2 separate regions of the Homo sapiens genome follow, and region 2 is linked to region 1. The links are contacts of gene promoters, found by promoter capture Hi-C in human tissues and cell types (Jung and others, 2019). All regions are on one chromosome and are shown on one strand. The core of a region is centred on a gene start or on the middle of the fragment in contact, and the rest is flanking DNA. Distances in the headings are between cores, read along the strand shown. Region 1 holds the start of ASL (argininosuccinate lyase). Region 2 has its middle 4.5 kb from the start of LINC03006.

Region 1 (2,700 bases), core at 3-2,502:
TAGAGACAAGGTTTCACCATGTCAGCCAGGCTCATCTCGAATTCCTGACCTCAGGTGATCCGCCCGCCTCAGCCTCTCAAAGTGCTGGGATTAAAGGCGTAAGCCACTGTGCCCGGCTGCGTTTCTTTTTTCTTTTCTTTTCTTTCTTTCTTTCTTTCTTTCTTTTTTTTTTTTTTTTTTTTTTTGAGACAGAATCTTGCTCTGTCACCCAGGCTGGAGTGCAATGGCACCATCTCAGCTCACTGCAATCTCCGCCTCCCGGGTTCAAGAGATTCTCCTGCCTCAGCCTCCGGAGTCGCTGGGATTGCAGGCACCCGCCACCGTGCCCGGCTAATTTTTGTATTCTTAGTAGAGACGGGGTTTCACCACCTTGGCCAGGCTGGTCTCAAACTCCTGACCTCGTGATCCACCCGCCTCGGCCTTCCAAAGTGCTGGGATTACAGGCGTGAGCCACCGCGCCCGGCCTCCGGCCGCGTTTCTTTTCTTTTTTAGAGGAGTCAGGCTGGAGTGCCGTGGCACAATAGCTCACTGCAGCTTCGAACTCCTGGGCTCAAGTGCTCCTCCCGCCTCAGCCTCCTGAGTAGCTAGGACTGCAGGCGTGCACCACCACGCCCGGCTTTTTTTTTATTATTATTAATTTTTTTGTAGAGACGGGATCTTGTTGTATTGCCCAGGCTGGTCTCCAACTCGTAGCCTCAAGCGATCCTCCCACCTCGGCCTCCCAAAGTGCTGGGATTACAGCTGTGAGCCACCGCGCCTGGCACAGGCTTCATTTCTGATGGTCCTTCCTTTTTCCTTGATGCCTTTCTCTGTACCTGGCACATAGAGGTGCCTGGTACGTGTTTGTTGAATGAATGAATGAATGAGTGAATGAGCGAACATGCCATTTCACCTTATATATCTTGTGAACCTGCCAGGCCCGGGCCTGATGTCATAGCCTCTACCCCTGGCCCGAGTCTCCAGTCCCCTGCGTGTCTGCTGACCACAGCACGAACGCCAGCGCACTACCCTCCTCAACCCCAGCCCAGGCCCCTTCCCCGTCGGGGTCCCCCCAACCCTTTCCCCGCCCGCTTCCCCGCCCCGGGGCCGCTTAGCCTCCAGCTCAGCGGGAGGTATCCCCGCCCACGGCCAGGATTGGAGGATGGAGGCAACGCCCACCCCGCCGGGCGGCCTCCTATTGGCGCGGCCGTCGCCAGGGGTGGGGACAGGACCGGCGGCTGCTGACGCCATCCCGGCCAGAAAAGCCCTGGCCAGTGGCGGGCGCGACACTATCCGTGCGGCCAGGCGGAGGTGAGTGCGCGGCGGCCGGATGGGCGGGACGGGCGTGGAGGACGCCGAGCACCGTGGCGCGCGCTCACGTCCGCGTCCCCAAGGGCTGCGCTCCCTCAAGCGCAGTGCCCAGAACTCGGAGCCAGCCCGGCCCGGGGGACCCTGCTGGCCAAGGAGGTCGTCAGTCCGGTCTTGTCTTCCAGACCCGGAGGACCGAAGCTTCCGGACGACGAGGAACCGCCCAACATGGCCTCGGAGGTGAGTGGGACCTCGGGGACTCCGGTCCTCCTAGCCTCCAAAGGAGAGAGTGGGGGCGCCAGACCTGCCTCGGGCCACCCTGCTGGGAATCGCCCTCCAGGAAGCAATTTTGAAAATTACCTAGGAAGCCTGCACCCCCAGCCCTCCCGGGCGCATCATCTGGAGCCCAGCAGTCACCTTTACCAGGACTCACCAGTATCCGCAGGCAGCCCTTGTGGCAAACCCACCAACCCACACTACTAGGGGTAGAGTGGCTCTGCCCTCACCTCACAGTGATGCCTGCCTGGCCAGGAAAAGTGGCTCCCAAGCCTTCAGCCTTCCAACTCTTCCTTCCTTCTTACCACGTGTCCTCCTGTCAGGTCCCACCCCACACCACATCCCTTCTCCTGCTAGAGCAATTGTCCCTGTTTATAGAATAAAGCTCAGCCCCTAAGTGTTCTTGTCCTTGACTGTGGCATGTGGAAAGAGCCAGGAAAAAGGGGACGTCGCCTCGTGGCTCCAGCAACCCTGGTGCCTGGTCCCTTCCTGTCTCACTGGACCCTGCCTCTTAGGGTCAGTGGCTCCTGGCCTCTCCTCCTGACCACTGAGATGCTGGATTCCCAGGCAGAGGTTTTCCTTCCTTGGGCCATAGTTGATTTATCTGGCAATGGGGGTAATAATAGCTGTCGGCCTCACTCTGTAAGGCACTAGATTATGAGGCCATTGCTTTGGACCCTTCAGGTGAGAGGGGCTGTTCGCCTGATGCTTGATGAAGGGAACTCCGGGAAGCAGGAGGTCTGGGTTCCAGGCCCTTTTGGCCTTCATTAGCTAGCAATTCACTTCCTCTTTCTCAATGCCCTGCAAGCTCAGTGCCCTGCAAGCTTCTGGGTCATGGCAGGGGGGTAGGGCCTGGACTTTGGAGCCAAACAGACTTGGTTTCTGTACCAGTCACTTGAGCCCTTTAAACCTCTTTCCTCATTTGTGAAATAGGGGTAATATTGCCCACCTCATAAAAGGCCGTAATAACATATGTGAAATCCCTAGCACAGGGCTGAGCAACAGTAGGTGCTCAATAAATGGTGGCTAACCACAACAATACTGATATTTCTACTTTGGGAGGCCGAGGCGGGAGGACTGCTGAAGCCCAGGAATTCCAGACCAGCCAGGGCAATGTAATGAGACCCTGTCTCTACA
Region 2 (2,700 bases), core at 99-2,598, 300 kb before region 1:
GGACATTGTTTCATCTCATATTAATTAGTTGGCTCAAAATTAGTCCTAATGACTTAGGAATTCAATGGTTTCTCTTAGCTTTAAAACCTTCTTTATTTCAGAACTATTTCACCTGTTGGTTTTCGTTTTTGCTGTGTGTCACTGCCTGCCAGCTGCTATTGTGTTAACTCCCAGTGGATCATGTGTCCTGTGAAGGGACTGAATGAGATATTAATGGCAAATTATGTTGATGATTCATATTTTGAATATAAATAGATCATTAAGCTTGTATACATTTTGAAAATAGTATGTTAATATTCTGTTGTGTCATAGTCACAATGATTGGCTACATATTGAATTTATATGTACATTAAGTTGTTGTATGCTTATGTTCTTTAACATTCTAACTTGCAACTGTATATCTGTTAAGTCTTTTTTTTTTTTTTTCCGAGAAGATCAGACTCTGATTTATTGAGGCATCTGTTTGATGCCAAGTTAAGTGGCCCAGGCTCTGTGTAGGGGGTGAGGTTAACGCAGGAAGAAAGATGGTGAGGGGCAAGGGTGCAAGGATTATGTTGGAATGAGGCTCCCCAAGTTTCCCTGGCCCTGGCTGGTTGTGCTGCTGGCCTGAACATCTGATGAGCTTGCAAGGGTGACTCCGAGAGGTGGGTGGTCCAGGGGCTAGGGCAGGGACTTTGGAGTCACGCTGTTGGCTTTGAATCCAGACTCCTACACTTGGTAGCTGTGACCTTTCCATGCCTCAGTGACCTGCAGAACTGAGCTCTGTCTGAGCCAGGTCCCATCCAGGCACTGCAGATCCATCCAGAGTTAAACCACCCCAGGTTGCTGACTATCTGCTGCCTTCTCAAGCAGATCCTTGTCTCCTTGGAGGCCTTCACAATCCAGTGGAGGAGGCAAAACTCATCTGCCTCTGTCCCTCTGGGTGCACCTCATGCCAGGTGCATCTGTGGGCACAGGTCATGCTCCTGGGCTTCCAAAGTTGGAGAAAGTTGCCAGGCTCAGGTGGCTATATCAGAGCAGCTGCTACCCTCTGGACACAGTGACAAAAGAACACTCTGGGCCTAGAGTCCTGGTCTGGGGCACTGGGCAAGGCTCTTGCACTTCTCTGAGCCCGTTTCCCCATCTGGAAAGTGTGCTGATTGAGTCTCCCTTTGGGCACTGAGGGCTCAGGGTTAGTTTGAGAGCCAGCATCTGGGGTTTGGGCTGTAATTCCCCTTCAGCCCCATAGCTGGGGGGAGTCAGGGACTTTGTCGGGATTACCCTAGGCATCAGTCCAGCTTCCTGCTCCTGGCTTGGGCTCAGCATCTGAAGTAGTTTGGGGGGCAGGTGGTCCTGGTGGGGGTTGGGGCTTTTCCCCAGAATTAGGTCACACCCAGAGCCAGAAATCTTGGCACCTGCTCTAGGCTAAGGATGCATCTGGCCCCCAGGGTGCAGGTAACTGCCCACCTTTCCTGGTTTCTGCCTGCCAGGGCCAATCTTCAGACCTCGGGACTTCCCAGCCTATCCCACCTCCCTCTCTGGCCAGCCTTGAACCCTCGTGGGTCCAGCACTTTTTCCAGGCCATCTCCTGGTTGTCCTCCTGCCCCGAGGCCTGGCTCATGCTGCTCCCCCTCCCACTCACCATGACCCACAAGGACCACTCCACACCCAGCTCAGCCCCAACCCCTTGGATAGTCCTTTCGCTTTCCTCAGGCAACCAGGTGCATATCTTGGTGTCAGGACCTTCCCTGCACCTGGGAATGCCTACTGGTCACGTCGGTCACAGAGACCAAGGCATTTACTTGATTTGAGTGCCTTTGGTTCATTGTCTGCATGGCCAGGGAGGGAGTCAATGATAGGCTTTTCACTTGCTGCAAGGGTCAGTTCTCCTGGCCCCATGGCCCTAGGGATGGAGGATGCTGCAGGATACACACCCCTCACTTCCCAGCTGAGTGCTGTGGGTCATCTCAGGGCGATTTCACAGTCCCGCATGCCCCACCCCCTCAGCTCTGCAAATACCAAGCAGCGCAGCCTGCCTAGGGGACAGTGGGCTCAGGACTGCCCAGGTGGGCTCAAGACTGCCCAGGTAGTCCCCAGAGTGCCCTTGGCAGGCCCCTCACCTAGCTGCTCCCACAGCTCTGTAGCAAGAGTCTAACCTTTTTTGAGTGTGGAGCCTGCTGAGAATGAGAACTGTGGGCTGTTTTCCCGGAAACGCATGTGCACACTCTCCACACAAAACCTTGCATCGTTTCAGGGGGCTCACACCTCCCTAAGGGCCCAGTTATTGAACCCCTCGGACCTGAGAATGAGAAACCTTGCCTCAATAGAGTCTTGCTCTGTTGCCCAGGCTGGAGTGCAGTGGCCCAACCTCAGCTCACTGCAACCTCCGCCTGCTGGGTTCACGCAATTCTCCTGCCTCAGCCTCCTGAGTAGCTGGGACTACAGATGCGCACCTACCACTCTCAGCTAATTTTTTGTATTTTTAGTAGAGATAGGGTTTCACCATGTTGGCCAGGATGGTCTAGATCCCTTGACTTCGTGACCCGCCCGCCTCGGCCTCCCAAAGTCCCAGGCATGAGCCACCACGCTGAGTCAGGGTCCCTCTTAAACTTGTATTTTTAAGGTCTGGTGTCCCTCTTACTTAATCTTTTTTTTTTTTCTTTTTTGAGACGGAGTCTTGCTCTGTCACCCAGGCTGGCAGTGGCATGGCCTCGGCTCACT

Evidence for each region. Contacts are between HindIII fragments. The study calls those that stand out against the background at their distance.
Region 2: a contact is called between a fragment that was not itself captured here and the fragment with the promoter of ASL in region 1, in 2 of the 25 tissues and cell types used here (hippocampus and lymphoblastoid cells).

What each region holds. Positions count from the first base shown.
Region 1 is chr7:66,074,567-66,077,266 of GRCh38, forward strand. It overlaps ASL (argininosuccinate lyase), which reads left to right and starts at 1,253. Exons shown (of 17, transcript NM_000048.4): 1 at 1,253-1,290; 2 at 1,473-1,527. The coding sequence starts at 1,516. RefSeq lists a silencer at 894-1,423 and an enhancer at 1,524-1,803. The HindIII fragment of the contact is 4,995 bases long and covers 1-1,937 here.
Region 2 is chr7:65,773,940-65,776,639 of GRCh38, forward strand. It overlaps the pseudogene GTF2IP5. Among named protein-coding and RNA genes, the nearest start is that of LINC03006, 4.5 kb to the left of the region's middle. RefSeq lists enhancers at 1,451-1,952, 1,953-2,452. The HindIII fragment of the contact is 4,143 bases long and covers 1-2,700 here.